Regions from separate parts of the Homo sapiens genome. Here region 1 is linked to region 2. The links are contacts of gene promoters, found by promoter capture Hi-C in human tissues and cell types (Jung and others, 2019). All regions are on one chromosome and are shown on one strand. Each heading gives the region's core, a stretch centred on a gene start or on the middle of the fragment in contact. The rest is flanking DNA. Distances are from core to core; before and after follow the strand shown. Region 1 overlaps C5-OT1 (C5 3' UTR overlapping transcript 1). Region 2 holds the start of STOM (stomatin).

Evidence for each region. Contacts are between HindIII fragments. The study calls those that stand out against the background at their distance.
Region 1: a fragment that was not itself captured here is called in contact with the fragment with the promoter of STOM in region 2 in 1 of the 25 tissues and cell types used here (aorta).

Annotation. Positions count from the first base shown.
Region 1 is chr9:120,938,542-120,944,495 of GRCh38, reverse strand. It overlaps C5-OT1 (C5 3' UTR overlapping transcript 1), which reads left to right. Exons shown (of 2, transcript NR_148450.1): 2 at 987-2,244. Among named protein-coding and RNA genes, the nearest start is that of C5-OT1, 11 kb to the left of the region's middle. The HindIII fragment of the contact is 6,248 bases long and covers 1-4,655 here.
Region 2 is chr9:121,365,413-121,372,044 of GRCh38, reverse strand. It overlaps STOM (stomatin), which reads left to right and starts at 1,795. Exons shown (of 7, transcript NM_004099.6): 1 at 1,795-1,918. The coding sequence starts at 1,858. LOC102723324 (a long non-coding RNA gene) reads right to left here and starts at 2,152. Exons shown (of 7, transcript NR_187160.1): 1 at 2,079-2,152. RefSeq lists enhancers at 1,281-1,370, 830-1,790. The HindIII fragment of the contact is 10,810 bases long and covers 1-6,632 here.

The sequences.
Region 1 (5,954 bases), core at 282-2,781, 430 kb after region 2:
ACCTTAGTGCCAACTCAGGAGCCCACAATCTGTGGCAGTCAGCTGGAGTGTGATTTCCAGCTGTCTTAACTCTCTAGGCCTCAGTTCTATCTTTTAAAAATAATGAAAGAATTTCCCCCAACCCAATTTACAGATTTGTTGCAAGGATGAAATAAGATCCAACAAGTGAGAGAAATTTTAAAATGTAGAATCTTGCACAAATATAAACATAGCATTAAAAACAAAAAGCATCTTTGTGCTAAGATACCATAGACAGAGACTGCCTGGTGTGCTTTTTTAAAAATTGGGAAAAGACCACTATCTTAAAAAACAACCTCCTCCAGTGCCTCGAATTTTCCCATTTGCCTTCCTCTTTTGGTCCTCAGGACTGTCAGCCTTAGAACAATGCTATACAAAGTGTGGTCCCTGGCCGCCTGGGAGTTTGTCAGGAATGCAAATTCCCAGACCCCACCCCAGACCTACTGAAACAGAAAATCTTGGGAGCAGAGCTCGGAGATCTATATTTTAATAAGATATCCAGGCCTGGCGTGGTGGCTCACGCCTGTAATCCCAGCACTTTGGGAGGCCGAGGCAGGTGGATCACGAGGTCAGGAGATCGAGTCCATTCTTGCTAACTCGGTGAAACCACGTCTCTACTAAAAATACAAAAAAATAGCCGGGCGTGGTGGCGGGTGCCTATAGTCCCAGCTACTCGGGAGGCTGAGGCAGGAGAATGGCGTGAACCCGGGAGGTGAAGCTTGCAGTGAGCCGAGATTGCGCCTCTGCACTCCAGCCTGGGTGACAGAGTGAGACTCCATCTCAAAAAAAAAAAAAAAAAAAATCCAGGAATATTATAGGCATGTTAAAGTTTCAGAAGTGTTGTTTAAGAGCTTGTGAAAGTGCAGGTTCTCATTCTATAGGTCTGGGATGGGTCATCCTGTTAACTTTTGTACGGTTTTAATAATTTTTCTTTTTTTCTTCTAATTACCATAATTTTATAATTACAGGTTGAGCATCCCAAATCTGAAAATCCAAAATCTGAAATGCTTCAAAATTTGAAACTTTTTGAGTACCAACATGACACCACAAATGAAAAATTCCACACATAAGTACTTAACACAAACTTTGTTTCATGTAAAACATTGTTTAAAACATTGTATAAAATTACCTTTAGGGGATGTATATAAGGTATACATGAAACATAAATGAATTTTGTATTTAGACATGGTCCCATCCCCAAGATATCTTATTGTATGTATATGCAAATATTCCAAAATCTGAAAAAAATCTGAAATCTGAAACACTTCTGGTTCCAAGCATTTTGGATAAGGATTACTCAACTGGTACCTTAGTCTGATTAATTTATTCTCAGCTTCTATGTATTAGTTCTTAGGGATTCTTTTTTTTAACTTCACCTTTTTTGTAATGTTCCTAGCAAATGTTATTCATGTTATTTCACTTTTTAAAAATTATGCCATTGCTCTAGTGGCGGAGCAGGAAGCAAAGGAATACAGGGCCAGCATGCTGCTGAATGGGCCTGGCAGCAGCAGAACTACGTGAAGAGGCCTCTGTGTTCCTGGAGGTTTATGGACAGAGGTCCTTGTGTAACTTAATGTTCCAGATCCCGTGTCCTAAGCAGAGTAGCTGCAACCCAGAAACAGCCTCTGCAAAGGAGCCTTCAGTACCAGATCCAAGCCTCACTTTGTGTCCTCACTCCCACTTGCTCATTGGCCCCTGACCCAGCCTTCAGGATTTCAACAGCAAGCCGAAGAGCAGGTGCTCCTGTCAGCTTTTCTGCTCACTCTGGCTCCTGTGGCCAGACCCAAGTTCATACAGCAGATCTTTCCTGCCCTGCGTGGGCCTTTGAGACGCTGTGGAGGGTGGGCCTGCTTGGTTGATTACTACTGCTGCTGCTTCTAGTTCCATTGACCCACCAGGGACAGCAGCTCTGATTCGGCCTATGCCTGCCCTCCGCCACCTCCCTCCTTCCTTTCTCCCTTCCCCTCCCCCCTCTCCCACATACCAGAAATCACTGTCTTGGCACTTGGGATTTGAAAATTTGCCCAACAAATGAAAACTGATCTTATCTGTCTGCAAAGCAATTCGACAATGCATTTCAGGAGCCAAAATATGTTTATATTTCTTGATCCAGTAATCCTTCTCCTGTTGAATGATTTATATAAATTCCCAAAAGGAAAAAAAAATAGTTGGTACACAAAGATCTTCTGTGGAAGATTATTCATTTAATAAATATTTATTGAGTGCCTCCTGCATGCCAGGCACAGTTCTAGATGGTGTAATCAAGATAAACAAAGTCCCTGCTCTCCTGGAGATTATGTTATAATTGAGGAAAAAGACAATAAATACCCACTTAAAGAGGGAAAATAATATATTTACTAAATTCTCTGCAGAGGAATTTTTTTTTTTCTTTTTGAGGTAGAGTCTCACTCTGTTGCCCAGGCTGGAGTGCAGTGGTATGATCTTGACTTACTGCAATCTCCGCCTCCCAGGTTCAAGTAATTCTCCTGCCTCGGCCACCTGAGTAGCTGGGACTACAGGTGCGCACCACCATGCCCAGCTAATTTTTCTTCTTTTAGTAGAGACAGGGTTTCACCATGTTGCCCAGGCTGGTCTCAAACTCTCAACTCAAGTGATCTGCCTGCCTCGGCTTCCCAAAGTGATGGGATTACAGGTGTCAGCCATCGCGCCTGGCCTCTGCAGAGAATTTTTTAAAAGTTCTATGATATAGAATGACTCAGTGGCTGCTCTAGATTGCATGGTTAGGGAAGGTCTATCAAATATCACTAAATAAGGTGGCATTTAAGCTGAGATTTTCTTGACAAGAAGGAACAACCACATGAAGGTCCAGGCTGGTGCGTGTAAAGACCCAGGGGTCCAGGGAACAGCGAGAAGGCTGACGTGGCTGGATCGAAGAAAGCAAGTGATGGACAATGAGGTCAGAGAAGTGAGAGGGGCCAGATCACTGGGATTTTGTAAGAACTGGTGAGATGTTTGGATTCTATGCAGTTGAGAGTATTAAGCAAAAGGGCATGAGACCAGGTTGTAGATGAGAACAGAGTCAGGGGAGACCAGTGAGGAGCTGGTGCCATTGTCATGTGACAGGTAACAGTAGCTTCAACTAGAAAGGAAGAAATGGAGATGAAGAGACAGGGATGAATTCAGGATAGTTTTGGAAGTGGTGCTGAGAGGATTTGCTGAAGGAATCAGGGTGGGGTAATGAATGCAGAGGAGTCAAGGATTACTCACGGATTCCTGGCTTGCACTGCTGCAGATGCCATTTACACAGCTGGAGAAGACAGGAGAAGGTACACATTTAGGAAAACAAGGAAAGAAGATGTTATGGGTTGAACACTACGTCACTCAAAAAGATATGTTGAAATTCAAATCTACAGTACCTCAGAGTAGGACCTGATTTGGAAATAAGTTTGTTGCATGTGTAATTAGCTAAGGTAAGATGAAGTCACACTGGAATAGGGTGGCTCTTAATCTAAAATGACAGGTGTCCTTATGAGAAGAGGGAAATGTAGACACAGGGATACGCAGAGAAAACCTCACGTGAAGATGCAGACACTGGGAGAGGACGGTCGCATGCAGACAGAGGTAGAAATTGGAGTAATGCATGTACAAACCAAGGAAGGCAAAGAACCACTGCTGTCACCTGAAGCCAGGAGAGAGGCACGGGACGGGTCCGCCCTCAGAGCCGGCCAGAAGAAACCAACCCTGCCGAAACTGCTTTCAGACTTCTAACCTCCAGCCCCGTGTGAGAATACATCTCTGTTGTTTCAAGCCACCCAGTTTGTGGCACTTTGTTACCCAGTGCTCACAAGCAAATACAGAAGAGAAGAAGGATTTCTGTCAGGGCTTTGTTATGTTTAAGAAGCCTTTTAGACATTCTTGTGGAGATATCAAGTAGGAATTAGCCTAGAATTACTATGAATCTAGAATTATGGTATATAAAGCAATACCACTGTAATTTATTGAAGTACTTTGTGTGATATAAAAAACCTGACATATAAATTAATAGTTCGAAAGGGGGAAATTGTAATTATTACTCATAATTACATGTAAATGACAGAATGCATATTCCATGAAATATTATGCAGCCTCTAAAAAGAATCATTTTAAAGACTAGGTAGGAGCATGAAAAATGCTTATGATCATCACAAAGGCAGTGATTGCCACTTTGTAATAACTGCCTACGAATGGGAAGCAGATGTCAAACTTTATGGATTCAAATCATAGCTTCAGCTCTTCTGAGTGCCCTGAGATACACAGCATGTCAGTATCCTGTGCATTATGTGTGTTCCCTGTATTTGCAGCACCAGGGTAAATGAACACAAGGCTGAATTGCAAAGTGCTGAGATGATAAAGTAAAGAAGTAATCGGAGTAGACATAGAATTAAGCAAGGATAACTTCCTGGAAGCACATGGCCTGGGACAGGAAGCTTATCATGGGCCAGACATAGTGCCAGCATCAAGGGTACACTCAGGACAAGCCCCTGTAAGTCCTTCTCTGGAAACACATCTGTGCTGGAGCTCCTGCCACCCACAGCCTTCTCATTGATTTCTTATCATGGCCTTCTATCCCACTGTGAGCTCCTGGCGGACAGGGGCTGTATCTTGTTCTTCTCTGTATCCTAAGCACAAGACCTGACACTTGGTAGGTATAAATTAATGACAATTAATAGAACATCAGAACCATAATTTTACTGTCTTTGTTTACAAGAACTTGCAACAAAGGCACGTTAATACTGAGTCCCTCAACCTGTGAACATGAGAATACCGAGCAATTAAGGGTTTAAAGCCTGAAGCACAGCTGATCTTTCAGGTAATGGTTAAGTGCCTTTATCTGAGGTAAGCCCAAGCTTTTAGTTGCTTTGGAAGATGTGATAGAGGCAAACAACACCAATTAGAAAAATATAATGGAAGGAGAGATCCCATTTTACAAAAGCAAATATAATTGCTAAATTAAGTAAGTAGGACTCCCTGTGCATACTCATAAGTCAACTTTGTTTTGCCTTCCAGCTCCCTATAAAGATTTATTCAAAGGGAAGGGAGAGATATCCTTTCTCTATCCTTTAAGGAAAACTCAAGCATCTTATGACTGTTGTGATCACTCTTAGGAACTAAAAAGTCCTATGATCACTTCAGTCACCAAACAACTCTATTCATAAATTTGATGTTCAGTCCCATACAAAAGCAAAATTCTCAACTTGATTTAAAATACAATCTTCTCTCCCAAACAGGGCTTGCTGCAGGTTTGGGACCCCTATAGCTGGGAATAGTGTCACGGGCAGCTGCTTCTTTCCCTGGAGTTTCCTTCTCAGCTTACTAAGGCTGTTTAGTGTGGCTGCTTCTTTCTTTAAGATTGTAATAAATTTAAAATGCGTAACATAAGATTTACCATCTTAACTACTCCCAAGTGCACAGTTCAGTAGTGTTGAGTATATTCACATTGCTGTGCAAGCTGTGACTTCTGACCTCTCCAGCACTAGAGGGATTGGTAGGGAGGAAAGGTAGAAGAAAGGGGAGCAGAAGAGCTTACTTGACCAGTACTGCCATAAGATGGCTTTCAAGGGCTTTAAAGCAGACTCGGACTCTTTCATGGGCATGTCCATGGGCTTTTTAGACACTCCCCCAATCTCTCTCTCTCTTTTTATTTTTGAGAAGAAGTCTTGCTCTGTCACCCAGGCTAGAGTGCAATGGCATGATCTTGGCTCACTGCAACCTTCACCTCCCAGGTTCAAGTGATTCTTATGCCTCAGCATCCTGAGTAGCTGGGATTACAGGCGTGCACCACCATGCCAGGATAATTTTTGTATTTTTAGTAGAGATGGGGTTTCACCATGTTGGCCAGGCTGATCTTGAACTCCTGACCTCAAGTGATCCACCCGTTTTGGCCTCCCAAAGTGCTGGGATTACAAGTGTGAGCCACTGTGCTGGGCCACTCCCCC
Region 2 (6,632 bases), core at 546-3,045:
ACAGACTGTTTGTGACAATAAGATACCAAATTATAAACAAATTATACCTAAGGTCATGCCAGGCAAAGGTTAAGGCACACATCCCTTCACTTAGAGAATAAACTGTGTTCTAACTGCCACAAGGTTGTTCTCTTTCTCTAGCAGCTTAACAAGCACTGGCCTCGAGATAAGCAATATTAAAACAATTTGCAGCTCCACCAGATGTGGCCTAATGGAACCCCTATTCCACCAGCCATCATTACAGCTTTAATTGGACAAGAGGCTGATTTCAGTAACTTTCTCCTCATAGGAAAACTACCGACCATGGACTGGCTCTGGCTAGTTTACACAGACTGCATACTTGCACACCTTCCTGTCCTGAAAAGACCTTTTGACGCATGGGGTCTAACTGTAATACATGTATTGTTATTATTTTTTAGAGTCCATCAGGCTGGAGTGCAGTGATCTGATCATACATCACTGCAGCCTCCAACTCTTGGGCTCAAGTGATCCTCCTGCCCCAGCCTCCTGACTAGTTGGGACCGCAAGCACACACCACCCCACCTGGCTATTTTTTTTTTACTTTTTGTAGAGATGGGGACGTCACCATGCAGGCCAGGCATTTAACATTTAATTGGTAACTCTTCACTCCAAAATGAACATGGGTTGTATGTTACATGCATGTTTGCTCAATGGGCATGCGTCAGGACCACCCTCATGAATATTCATAGCTCCTCCTGTCACCTGCTGAATATGCATGTCTACCCAAGCTGTTCAGCATAAAGCCGCTACTCCAACCCCTCCTCCAACGAAATGCCTGTCTCTGGTCCTGGCCATTCTCCAGCCTGCGGAATGGCCACCTTGCAGGCTGTAACCCCTTACAAGAAATAAAGTCTCCTCTCCTGTTTTTTTGTTTTTTGTTTTGTTTTTTTGAGACGGAGTCTCGCTCTGTCACCCAGGCCATCTCGGCTCACTGCAACCTCTGCCTCCCAAGTTCAAGCGATTCTCCTGCCTCAGCCTCCCAAGTAGCTGGGATTACAGGCGCGCGCCACACGCCCGGCTAATTTTTGTATTTTTAGCAGAGACGGGGTTTCACCATGTTGGCCAAGCTGGTCTCGAACTTCTAACCTCAGATGATCTACCCGCCTCGGCCTTCCAACGTGCTGGGATTACAGGCGTGAGCCACCGCGCCCGGCCTCCTCTCCTTTTCCAAATTTATACATTTTGATTTTCTTAACACACCTCACTCGAGTTCGTTCACTTCGGCTGCGGCGTGATCTGCCGGCCCTCTCAGCTCAGGCTGACCTCAGCGCCCTCACTTCGGCCACTTCTGTGTCCCTCAGTCTTCTCCCCTCAACTCGGACCTCGCGCCCTCATGACAGGGCGCCATTTTCTTCCCTCTAACTCCTCAGCCCAGAGGAGGCGCCTTGGTCCCGTACCTCTGCCCGGCAAGGCGACTTTTCTTCACTTGCACTTTTGCCTCGGGTCATCCTCTGCTGCTACCTCCCCACTATCCTCACCATCTGCTCCACGTCCCGTGGCTTCCGCCCTCCCTTCCGGTGCAGGGCCCCGGCCTCATACCCACAGCCTTGGGGGCTCTCGCCCCTCAGGCCACGCCCCTCAGGCCACGCCCCTCAGCCCACAGAACTAGCGGGAAGTGACTGCGAAGCAGTCGCGCCGTGGAGGGACAGGAGGGCGGGGATTGGGAGGTGGGTCCTCCTCGATCCTGGGCGTTGATTGGCCAACTCTCACGAGGGCGGGACCTCGATTGGGGGCGGGGCGGCAATCTGGGTCTTGTGCCTCTGGCTCCTCAGGGCATTCCCGGCGGCTCCGGGTTTGGCAACGAGGACGGGGGAGTGCGACTGCGTCTCGGGCAGCATGGCCGAGAAGCGGCACACACGGGACTCCGAAGCCCAGCGGCTCCCCGACTCCTTCAAGGGTGAGTCCCGCGTCCCCTGACCCTCCCCCGTGGACCGAGCCCCCGCCCGCAGCGTGCGCTCCGAGGTCTGACAGCCGGGCTCCTGGCCAGTCTCCGCTGCTTCGGGCTGGGCGAGATCTCAAAGCCGCGGCTCCTCCCTAGTAAACTGAGCATCACGAACCCTGTTTGGCAGACTGAGGTCACGATGGAGGGGTGGCGGGCTGCCAACGGCACGTTTCCCATCGCACGGGCCCTGGTTATCTCGCGGCCGCCAGATGCCAAGCCCCATGCCAGGGCTGCACTATCTCGTGTCACGCACGCGGACTAGGAAACGCAGAGGGAACTGGCAGCCAGCGAGGCGGGGACCGGGACCCCACATCTCACCCTTTGCCCACTCCCCTTCTTTCCCGACTCACTCTCTCGAAGGCCGCCTCCTCCACCCAGCCCTGGCCTGGCCCCAGGGTGAACCCCCTCCTCCCCCAATCCCACCTCCCGAAACTTAGACCGATTTGCAGAAGGAAGAAGTCTCTCTGGCTTTCTTCTTACCTCTCTTTCTAGCTCCACTTTCTGCCCCATTTTTCCCCCTCCGCTTTCCTCTGCGTTTTGGAGAACTCTCCTTCCCGGCTTTTGTTCCTCGCCAGGAACCCTGAGTTCTCCCACCCTCACCCCCACCCTCCCTTCCCAGTCTTCAAGGCAGGAGCTGTAAGTGGCTCAGTCTCGTTCCCCTGTGGAGGAACTGGTACTCTGGGGAGGGGGTTCCAATAAAGAGAGATGGTGGACCTCTCAGGAGTCCTGGTACCCACTCAGGAGCTCTTAGTGATCCAGAGGAATTACAGTGTTTCTAAAGATGGAATTTCAGGCAGGATGGCAGTGAAAGCAATTTAGAGGGCTGGGTGGTCCTTTCCAGGACCCCTCAAAGAACATGACATTGGAGTCATCTATTCTGATTATTTGTAAAGCCAGCTTTATCCACAGCATCTTAGCTATAAGTTCCATTTCCCTTGTCCAGGGATCCCTGTGTTCAGTTCCTTCCCAGGAGCATCAAAGGAATTACAGAAATCTTTATTCCTCACTTTTTGTCTACTAATAACGTTGCAGGTTATCTTCCCAAATGGAGAGTGTAACAGGGAGGAGTTGATGAGAATAATGGCAACCACAACAACAAAAATTGAAACTAAATAGGTCAGGCTCCGTATCACTTTTTTTTTTTTTTTTGAGACGGAGTTTCGCTTTTCTTGCCCAGGCTGGAGTGTGATCTCCGCTCACTGCAACCTCCGCCTCCCGAGTTCAAGTGATTCTCCTGCCTCATCCTCCCAAGTAGCTGGGATTACAGGCGTGCACCACCATGCCCAGCTGATTTTGTATTTTTTGTAGATACAGGGTTTCACCATGTTGGTCAGGCTGGTCTCAAACTCCTGACCTCAAGTGATCCACACGCCTCGGCCTCCCAAAGTGCTGGGATTACAGGCATGAGCCACCGCGACCCCCCCAGTGCCACGTATTTTATGTATATATTATTTTATTGAATCTTCACAACAGATGATGTGGTAGGTATTCTTATCCCCATATTATACTTGATGAAACTGATAGTCAAAGAAGTTAAATTACTTAAAGTCACTTAGTTTGTATTTAAATCTAGATTTGACTGATTCTAAAACTTGAATAGGGAAAAAATGGGTGGTAACTGCCTCTTCGATAGTTAGTTGTCTTTTCCTAGATAAAAAGGTGGGTATTAGCATGCATTCCTCAATACCCTGACCTCCTGGTGGGAAACTGCAGTGGCAAATCTGCTTGGAGTTCTTTGAGAATCAACATGATCTTTGTACTTAATGTTTATTTACAGACAAGTGGTCATAGATGAGTTTTTAACTTCCAGTTTTTTTCCTTGGTTCTACACTTAACTACTGTTTAGACAGAAATCTTTCAAGATCTAATGAAAACCACCACTTCCTCTCAAAAATTAGACATACAAATAAAATTTTGCATAGTCTGTGTTTTTTTAATGTAAACCTAACAAATTTGACGCTACTAGGAAAGGTATTGCTGGAATTTATTAAATAGAGGTTATTGAATGCTTTCCCTGTGCCAAAAGACAGTTTAAGTGCTTTACAAACATTATCTAATTGCATTCTGTAACAGCTCTACAAGGAAAAAGTCATTATTCACCATTTCACAATAAGGATACTGCGGCTCACATGGCAAAATCACAGTTTCTAAAATTTTCAGCCCTGTTTCAAACCCCGGCTATCTGATTTTCTGAATCATTTTCCCTATCCCAGAGATGGATACCAAAATGTAGAACCTTGTCTAACTTCAGTACTTTACTTAAGTTGAGAGACAATAAACAAAAAAAGCCTGGAGGAACACAGCTTCAGTGATGACTTCCAGAAGGCTGCTTGTGAAAGAAGCAGTGGAATTTTAAAAGCCTAAACTCTGCCTCTTTGTCTTTACTGAGAATTAGTCCTAGGTAGGTAAATAGCACCAGGCCTAGGGCAAGACTAGTTTTTCTTAAAGGCGATGCATTCACTTTGTAATGAAATAATGCAAGTAATTGCAAAGAATGTATCACTGTAATTAAGAGCCATGTCAACAAATAAAACCCTTTGGGAGACTGATTGTTTATTTCAGTTGTTATAGCCAATCAGATTGGAGAGAACTTTGTAACTTCTTCAATAATTAATCTGAGTTATTCCATCAGTGGTCATAAATTAACTTATGGAAGACCAAGTCTACAAAACTGGCATATTTATTCATGATTAAATAGATTTTTGGTGCCATTTGATGGTATAAATTTTACCTAGTAAAAGACAGTCACTGATTCCTAGTCATCTTTGAGGGAAAAAAAAGATGTTGATAAAGTGATACAGATGGAATTCAAAATCAGTTTTTTTAAGAAGGCATGGAAAAGCAATTTCCTGAAAACTATTGTAACTACAAAAAAAGTGAATACCCTTTCCCTGCGTCTGCCTGGTATCCTGTGCATATCTCTATCATAATGTTTATTACATAACATATTTATCAGTTTGACTCATCTGTCCCCTCCCCTCCCATAATTAAACTACACTTTTTCTTTTTGAGACCGGGTCTTGCTCTGTTGCCCAGGCTGGAGTGCAATGGTGCAGTCATAGCTCACTGTAGCCTCAAGTGATCCTCCCACCTCAGCCCCTCGAGTAGCTGGGACTACAGGTATGCACCACCACACCCAGCTAATTTTTTTTTTTTTTTTAACTCAGGGTCTCACTATGTTGCCCAGGCTGGTCTCGAACTCCTGGACTCAAGCGATCCCACTTTACCCTCCCAGAGTGCTGGGACAACAGGCATGAGCTACCAAGCCTGGCCTTTAGACCACACTTTTGAAAATAGAGATTGTGTCCTTCTTCACTGTAGTAGCCCAGTATCAAGTACATAGTAGGTATACAAAAACATTTGTTCAAAGAAAAAGGAAGCAGGCAGGGAGATAAAAATCCCCCTGGAGTAAATAACATTGTTAAGTGTTTGCCTTAGCCTTATGTTGGTGGAGCAGTTTTTCTGTTTACCATTTATTTTATTAAGTTTGTTATAACTTAAGCTGTTGATTTTAGGGCATGGCCATTATGTTTATTATATATTATTACAGATAGACTATTTGTCTGGGTTTATATTATCAATAAAAGGATTATAATTGCCAAGATAATATATTGTCCTTAATAAGAAATCTCCTTTTATTTATTAAAGCATGGAAAGAGAAGTTTAGAGGTCATGGTTAGTAGAAAGAAGGAAGTGTGTGTCAATAGATAATTTTCTATTGACACACACTTGTTGATAATTAAAATAGATCATTTCAATTAAAATAATTTTCTATTGACACACACTTGTTGCTACATTCTTTTTTAATCTTTCTCTGTCTGCTGGGACTACTAAAGAAACTTGAACTCCAAGCATTTGGCCTCACATTTCAGAAGATTATCCTTGAAGATACAACCAATAAAGTCCTAAAGTCTCAGACAATGAAAACTATACTGAACTTGTGGTCCAGTTAAAGTGAGCACTATGGTAAGGTAGTAGAATATAGTGAAATGAGAGTGGAATTTATAATTAAAAGATTTAGGTTGAGATCACCCTACCATCACTTAAGAGATTTGTATGAAGGATGGTCCAAGAACATTTAGAACTCTGACTTACTGCCCCAAGTGTAGTCTGTTTCTCCTCCAGAGATAGAGTCCCCAAGCAGATTGTTAGTTGATATTTTCTCCATAGTGCCCAGATCCCAAAAGGTAATTCACTTCATAAAAAGTTTCTTCCTCTAAACTTATCAATAGTGATCTTAAAGTTGTGGTAATAATAATGGCTACTGCTTGTTGAATACTTCCTAAGTGTCAAGCCCTTTACATATTTTCTCGTTTTATCTCCACAACAACTGAGTGAAATAAATACTGTTCTTTTCCCCATTTTACTGATAAGAAAATTTAGTGGTAGATTTGGAATCTAACACCAAAAATGCAAGCTTTTAGCCACTGCTTAGCTGTTAATCACAGTGAAGAACTGAGAACTTTATCATCTAGTTTTCTTCTGCTTCCATTTCCCATTTTTAAATGAAAACGATGTTACCCTCCAAAGACTTATATGAGAAAAACTTAATTGTGAATAATTTTAAGATGTCCAAGTAAAAGAGCTGGGAAAAAAAAAAAAAACCTAAAAAGTGGGAGGGTTTTTGTTCTGTTTTCATGTATTTCAGGCCTAGATGAAATTTAATTAA